2 separate regions of the Homo sapiens genome follow, and region 1 is linked to region 2. The links are contacts of gene promoters, found by promoter capture Hi-C in blood cells and fetal thymus (Javierre and others, 2016). All regions are on one chromosome and are shown on one strand. Each heading gives the region's core, a stretch centred on a gene start or on the middle of the fragment in contact. The rest is flanking DNA. Distances are from core to core; before and after follow the strand shown. Region 1 has its middle 88 kb from the start of ABRA. Region 2 holds the start of OXR1 (oxidation resistance 1).

Region 1 (3,828 bases), core at 1,088-3,587, 590 kb after region 2:
CAGGAGACCTAACTCAGAGAAAAAAAGCTGTAAAAAGGCTTTGCTAGAACCCTGAAGCTCAGTCTAAATCCCCGCCTGCCATCTTGAGGACATAGTCAGAATTGCATCAGATTCGATCTAAACCATGACTGCTCAAGGTAATAGCAAAGCCGTGTGTATTGAACCAAGGAGGAAATATTGTGGTTTTAAAAATGGACATGAATTATTTAGATGGTTAAGATCAAAGTGAGTTTTTACCTAAATATGTAAATTATTGAAGCAATTTCAAACAAAATTACCAGAAAACTATACTTGATCTGGTTAGATTGGAGGAACATACAGAATCTATGATGTTTTCTTAACTTCTTTAATATCTATGGGTCAAAATATATTTTATTTAGGTAGTTTGTTTAGTTTTTAAAAAATCTATAAATCATTAAAATCTATAATGGTTAGGTTTGAAACAAAAAAGGCTGTTGATAATAAACAGTGAGAGAAGATCAGGTAGAGAAGCACATATGTATAAAGTACATAAGTGCTTCACCTTTGGCATTTTTACTTTGTATAAACATCACAGGAGCAGAATGGGGTGGGCCAGGTTTGTGGCCAAATAAATGTGAGCATAACCATTTCCCACCTCTTCCTACTCCTTCTGTATCAACACAAACCTGTACCACTCTTAATTTTATTCCCTTCCAGAATCTTTTTTATATGTAGAGGGGCAGAGAATCCCTTTCTCTACATTCACTGTTGATTTTTTTGTTTGTTTTTGTTTTTGAATTTAAGAAACAGTTTTTGCTGTGTTGCTCAGGCTGGACTTGAACTCCTGGACTCAAGAGATCCTCCTGCTTCAGCCTACCAAAAAGCTGGGATTACAGGTGTGCCCCACCATGCAAGCGATCGATTATATCTGGTGATGCTTTGGGCCTCTGTGGTGTTCCGCACACAGTAGATGCTGTCTGTGTGAATGCGGAGTGAGGCAGCGCCTCTGCCCTGTCCTTTAATGTCCTTCATGGGACGGTTGACTCCTTAGCATTTTTATTCTTTTGCAACCTGTGTTCTCTTTACTGAGTCCTTTGAAACATCATAGGTCTGTTTCTCTGGAACAATCAGTTCACTTCAAGTCTGTTCTGTTGCTTGGCCCACAGCCCTGTGCCTCTCCATCTTCTATCTCATTTGCCTTTTCGGTACAGCTCTCTATCCTTCCAGAGGTCTCAAATTCCAAACACACAGCTGTCTTTTCATTTCATTGTTGCTCACTGCCAGCCAGATAGTAAGGATACTTACATCATTACTCACCCATTTTCCATGGGAGGATTTTAATGGGTGCGAATATACACCCTGGGATTTACAGAATTGTTAGAACATGACGTCACGGGTAGCACACAACCAAAGACGAAACAGCGCTGTGGAGGCAGTTTCCTCAGTGTGGAGTGGATCATCTGCGCACCAGGTGGTATTTATTGCTCTAGTTGTTTCAGTTCCTATTTGACAGGGCATAGATCTGTACAAATGCTAAGGCTGCCAATCTCACAATCTCCTTCAAAGCTAAAGTTTCCTTAAAACAGCCACCATGCTGTATAACATCACTACGTGCCAGGCATTCTTGCAGATTTATTTATTTTATGCTCATAGATAAATTTATTTTATGCTCTCAGCCCTACGAGGAAAAAACTGTCATTATCCCTATTGTAGAGATGAGACCATTAAAGCTTATGAAATACTTCCTTCACCACAGCCCCAGAGGGCCTTCTCCAAAGCAGGCATCTAGGTAACAATACTCCTAAGAGGGGTGGAGCCAGGATTTGAGCCTGGGCAGTCGGGCCCCGGAATCCGTGGGCAGAACCTTTATCCTCTGGTGTATCAAGATGCCTTCTGCTGGTGAACTCCTCTTGGGGTTGGGGTGGGAGGAACATTTTATAGGCTTCATTGGCTTTGGAATGCTCTAACATGCTCCAGACGTCAACTTGAATGCCAAGTTCAGAATCTCAAGCAGAATGTTCTCATGCTGTCGTTTTTTTTTTTTTTTTTTTTTTGAAACAGTTGACCTGAATAGAGTGTTCCTCATTTAAAGATAAGAAATCAGATAAAATAAATATTGTACTTAAGAAAGATTGTACAGTGTAAAGAATGAGAACTTTTTTTTCAAATTGTAGAGGAAAATTCTGAAAAATACTAAAGCAAAGTTTATAAGCTTTTCTGTGTAAAACACAGAAAACTTCTATAAGAAGATGCTTAGCATATACATATAAGACAAGAAAATATAAAAAAGGAGTGGCTTTTGTGGAGGTAAAAACAATAAAAATCATATACAAAACCGTAAATGATGTAGCATGACTTATAGTTTCAATAGAAGCAATGAAGGACATAATAAATATTAAAAATAACCTCAGAATCAAATCACTTGAACCTGGAAGGCAGAGGTTGTAGTAAACCAAGATCGTGCCACTGCATTCCTGCCTAGGAAACAGAGTGAGACTCCATCTCAAAATAAATAAATAAAATAAAACACATGAGAACATAAAGCTTTACTGACCTAAGAAACACCATTTATAGATAAAATAGGCTCATCAAATAACAAGTAAAATGGATTAAAACAACCCTTAGTCATACCCTGATGAATTGCTAAATTTCAGAGACAGCACTCTCTTTAAGTACCCAGGCAGAAAAAAAAAAAAACAACACAGAAGCATACCAGAGTAGTTACAAATGAACGGAAATGAAACTGGTCTCACATTTTTATTTATTTATTTATGTTTTTGAGGTGGAGTTTCACTCTTGTTGCCCAGGCTGGAGTGCAATGGCGCAACCTCGGCTCACTGCAACCTCCGCCTCCCGGGTTCAAGCGATTCTCTTGCCTCAGCCTCCCAAGTAGCTGGGATTACAGGCATCTGCCACCACACCCTGCTAATTTTTTGTATTTTTAGTAGAGATGGAGTTTCTCCATGTTGGCCAGGCTGGTCGAACTCAAACTCCTGACATCAAGTGATCCACCCACCTCGGCCTCCCAAAGTGCTGGGAGTACAGGCGTGAGCCACCGGGCCCGGCCCACACTTTACATTAGAGTTAGGCCAGATGTGGTGGCTCATGCCTGTAATCCCAACACTTTTGGAGGCTGAGATGGGAAGATTGCTCGAGGCCAGGAGTTCAGGACCAGCCTGGCCTACATAGTGAGATTCTGTCTCTATTTAAAAGAAAAAGAAAAAGAAAACATTAGCATTAGACTCTAAAGGCACAACCCATTATCCATTCTTGGGAAAAATTTGTGACCCAGTTTTTTGCTCTTTATCCAACGTATATGTGAAATGTGAAAATGTAAGTATATGAAATATAAAATAAAAAAGAAAGTCTCATAAAGTAAAAAATTCAAATATACCACCTATCTACTTTTAAAAAATTAATTTAAATATACTTTGGAATAAGACATAATAAAATAAAAAAGGACAAATAAGATAATAAAAAGATGGATATTAAATACTGAAAATAGTAACATATAGATGCAAGCCTAAGTTCTTACTGTAAACAAATACAAAAGTAGTTAAAACATAAAAACATGTCCAAAGAAAAATATATAAAATATATGCCTAAAAAAGCCATATTTTATAAATAAAAGAAAAACATGCTATATAAAATTTTATTTATAAAAATTCCAAGTAGGTAGAAGAGAATTAAGGGAAACAAAAACATGCTAATTTCTTATTTATGTGGGAGGGATGTTACATTCTTGATATTGATGATTGGAGAAGATGATTTCAAATACATTTAGAAGACACTTTAGATAACTTTTAATAAAAGCAGAGAAAATGTAGCAGATACACAAAGAAAAAGAAACAAGGTGATAGAAAAGTA
Region 2 (3,423 bases), core at 282-2,781:
ATACCTAGTCTATACATTGCTTGTAGAAGATTCTCAGTAAAATCTTTCTGATAGAATAAAAATTAAACGCTATCAGTTTCAACATAACAGAAAATTTAAGCTGCGAATGCTCGTAAAGAAATTAGGTAAAAATAATGGAGAACAAAACCCGCAATCGGCTTATCAATCGGCTTACTGTTGACACGCCACGCCACTCAGAATAGTATCTAATTTTCTTGATCCCTTATCTCAGGTAAAGCTATTGACTCGGGGAAATAGGTTATGCGGAAACCATGAAAGTTTCTAGTCTGGCCGACCCTAGGTTCAACACTCTATTATTCCAGACAAGCGATGAGCTCCTGTCGCTAAATTTCAACATCCCTGTCTGTCAAATGGGAATAATAATGATTCTCTCATTGGGTGGCTGTGAGAGGTGAGTGAAACAAGACGGAAATTTGACCCAGGAAATATCTGTACCTCTTACTTTAAAGAACAGAATTAAAAAATAATAATAAATGATCAGAAATTAAGGTAGAATAGAGTGAACACTAATAGCGGGAAATAGCTAATTTGCAGGTGAGGTGGCTGAAAGGCTCCTACGCTTGAAGTGTTTGCTGGATGCACAGGAGATCTGGGATACATCCCGAACTCGGCAACAGGACCAGCTCCTTTCCTCAGGGTTACAGAACAGCCAGGTTCCAGTTCAGGTCTGGGAATCTACCCATCCAGAGTTTGCGCCCTTTTCGTTTTGCAATTTAAAACCGGGTTGGAGGGGGAAGGAGTGAAGGCAGCATGCGGAGAAAGTAAATTACAGTTCAGGTGACAGGAACAAGAAAATCTCCAAGGTCAGGGTGGGGTGTCAACGAATTATGCAAAACACTGCGGAATGAGGAGTCACAAACGCCTTGCAAAGAATTCTGAATTTTAGAAGCTCTTTGCAGAACCCCCTTCAGCCCGCTCCAAGCTGCCTTGGGTCCCTTTCTAGGCTGTCAGACTTCGCCTTCCTTTCCTCCTTGTTTTTCCCAGCAACCAAAGCATCTGAAGAACATTTTTTTCCTCCGTAAATCTGAACAAATTTCCTTGCAGCTTTCCTTGCAGAAGCTTTTTTATCGCTTTAACAAAACTTTCCTCTGCTTCTCTAGGGAGAGCCTAGTATTAGAGCTGCCCGACAGGCGGGACCCCGAAATCGGGGCAGCTCTGGCTTAGTCCAGGCTATTCGAGTGGGCGCCTGAACTGGAGGCGCCGTCTCCACCGGGATGGGGATCCTAGTGCAGGCAGACGCCTGGCAGGACTCGGCGAGCTGGGGTCCCCACCGCGGTAGCCAGAGCAGAAACCCGAACCCCAGCCAGAGGGGCCGCGCGCGGGGAGGGGTGCGCGCTAAGCCAGCGTGGCTTCCGCAGGAGCTATTTTTAGCGGTGCGTGCCTCCCCCCGCCCCCGGCGTGGTAGCCTCCGGCTCGCGGCGCCCCACGGCTCCTCTCAGTCTCCCCCGCCGCTGCCGGCTCTTGGTAGCTTCCACGCGGGCAGGTCCGGAAACTGAGCATGTCTGCAAGCGCTCAGCGGCGCCGGCAGCAGCGGGGCTAGAGCTGGGCTGCGTCAGGCTGAGCCCATTCACCTCGCGGCCACAGGAGCTCAGCGCCGGCGCCGCGCCGCCCAGCCCCGCCGAGAGGGGCGCACTCGCCGCCGCGGGGCCCGCCGCCGCTCACCGCAGCCCCCTCCTGGCGACCCGCAAGTAAGTTTGTGAGGCTGCTGGGCGTTAGGGCGAGGGCTTGGCGCCCGGGGGAGTCCAGGAGGGATAGCGAGAGGCGCGGCTGGCGCCCGGGAGAGCCGGCTGGCCTCTGCCCCCTGTGCCTGGCGCCTCTCCGAGCCACTTAGCCAATTTGAAAGCGGGTGGCCATTGGGATGCTCGAGCGGGGACGACGGGCAGAGCAGGAGGGCAGAACTAGCTCCAGCGGGGGCCCAGAGGGCGGACTTGGGAAGAAGGAAAGACCGCGCGGCGAGGGAGGAGACCGGGCGGCGAGGGAGGAGACCGGGCGGGGAGGCTGGGTTTGGGGCGCGGGAGCCCGGCCAGGGACAGCCGCAGAAGGAAAGTGGGGGTGTCGCCGGGGGATAGAGTGGGAGCAGCGTGAGAGCAGTGTTGGGGGCGCAGAGTGGAGGGCAAGCGTGTCTTGAACAGAACGGCAGGAGGATGGGTGGAAAGTGGGGCGCGTGGAAAGCGGATTTGGACGAGAGCAAAGGACGCCGGTGGAAGGGACAGTGGGCTCCGGAGGGGCGAGTGGATTCGGATAATTTGGGGAATCAGTAAAAGGCTAGGGGGCACATCATGATGGAGTCAGCCTGGAATCTGTCTCCCGCTAGAGTACCCGAGGCCACATGTTGGGAACTGGCTGGGGAAAGGATGGATGTAGAAAGTGGCCTGGAGGGCCGACTGGAAAATCGCTGAGGGATTTGGGTGAAGAGGGGGGGAGCTGTGCAGTATCGGGCGGAGGAACTGGGCTGCTGGTAGGGCCTGAAAGGTTCAGGAGAGGGTTGGAGGCTTCCCCGTGCCGCCCCTTGAATAGTGATTTAGTACTGTTATCTGAGGTTCACTTTCACCCCTGGCTCCTCCTCCGTCTACTACCCGGCTTGGACGCACCTCGGCTCGCTGTAGGCGAGCTTTAGGAGATTTAAATAGACATTAGGCAGTGGGGAAGGTAGTCGTTTACGGGGGGAGCTGCTCGGGCTTCCGTTCAGTGGTTCCCGGCACGCTCAGGGTGCAGTGTAGGGTCTGAATGTGTGTATTGCGGGGGTAGGGGGAGTGGTGTCAGTTCTAGGCCACAGGAATTCGTGGTCTGGCCCCAGAGGTGCGGTGTTTTTGGCCGGGAAGTCAGGCAGAAGTCTGCAGCGTGCAACTCGCAGCGGGGCGTGTGTGTGCGTGTGTGCGCGCGCGTGTGCATGTTTCCGGCCCGGGGTCGCGTGTGTGGCTGCAGCCTGTCTCCGTGACAAGAAGATCCAGGGATCTACGGGCGGCACGGGGAAGGGATTAAGGGGAACATACTTCCCTACGTCTTTTCTGCCTCCTTTTCCCAGGGTAGCATTCTTTGCTTATCCAATGATGCCTCTTTCTAACCTCTCCCTCTCCACTTACATCCCAAACCTGATGCGGGTCTTCTCTGATTCGGCACTCTAAGGAGGACTCAGCCGCCGGCTGCGACCACCGTGGACTCCCTCTATGGAAGGGAATCCTGGGAGTCCCGGCCGTCAGAGGGGTTCCCAAATCCAAAGGGTCCATCTCCAAGGCGTCACTCCAGGGGTCCGCGGTTCACTTTGCTGCCCCTTGCAGGTGATGCTGTGATTGTTGCCTGCGGACTGGGAAGCACGATGGCTCCAAAAGGCCAGCGGGGCCGAGAAGCAGGGACAGAGACCAGCATTTAAGGGATCTCTGGTGGGGGCCTCCCTGGAGTTCT

Evidence for each region. The method cuts DNA at HindIII sites, captures the fragments that hold promoters and counts their contacts. A CHiCAGO score of 5 or more calls a contact.
Region 1: a fragment that was not itself captured here is called in contact with the fragment with the promoter of OXR1 in region 2 in 1 of 17 cell types (naive CD4 T cells); the score reaches 5.6 in naive CD4 T cells.

Annotation. Positions count from the first base shown.
Region 1 is chr8:106,856,606-106,860,433 of GRCh38, forward strand. No RefSeq gene overlaps it. Among named protein-coding and RNA genes, the nearest start is that of ABRA, 88 kb to the left of the region's middle. The HindIII fragment of the contact is 332 bases long and covers 2,172-2,503 here.
Region 2 is chr8:106,268,659-106,272,081 of GRCh38, forward strand. OXR1 (oxidation resistance 1) reads left to right here and starts at 1,532. Exons shown (of 17, transcript NM_001198533.2): 1 at 1,532-1,709. RefSeq lists silencers at 1,257-1,506, 1,527-1,886. The HindIII fragment of the contact is 2,469 bases long and covers 1,079-3,423 here.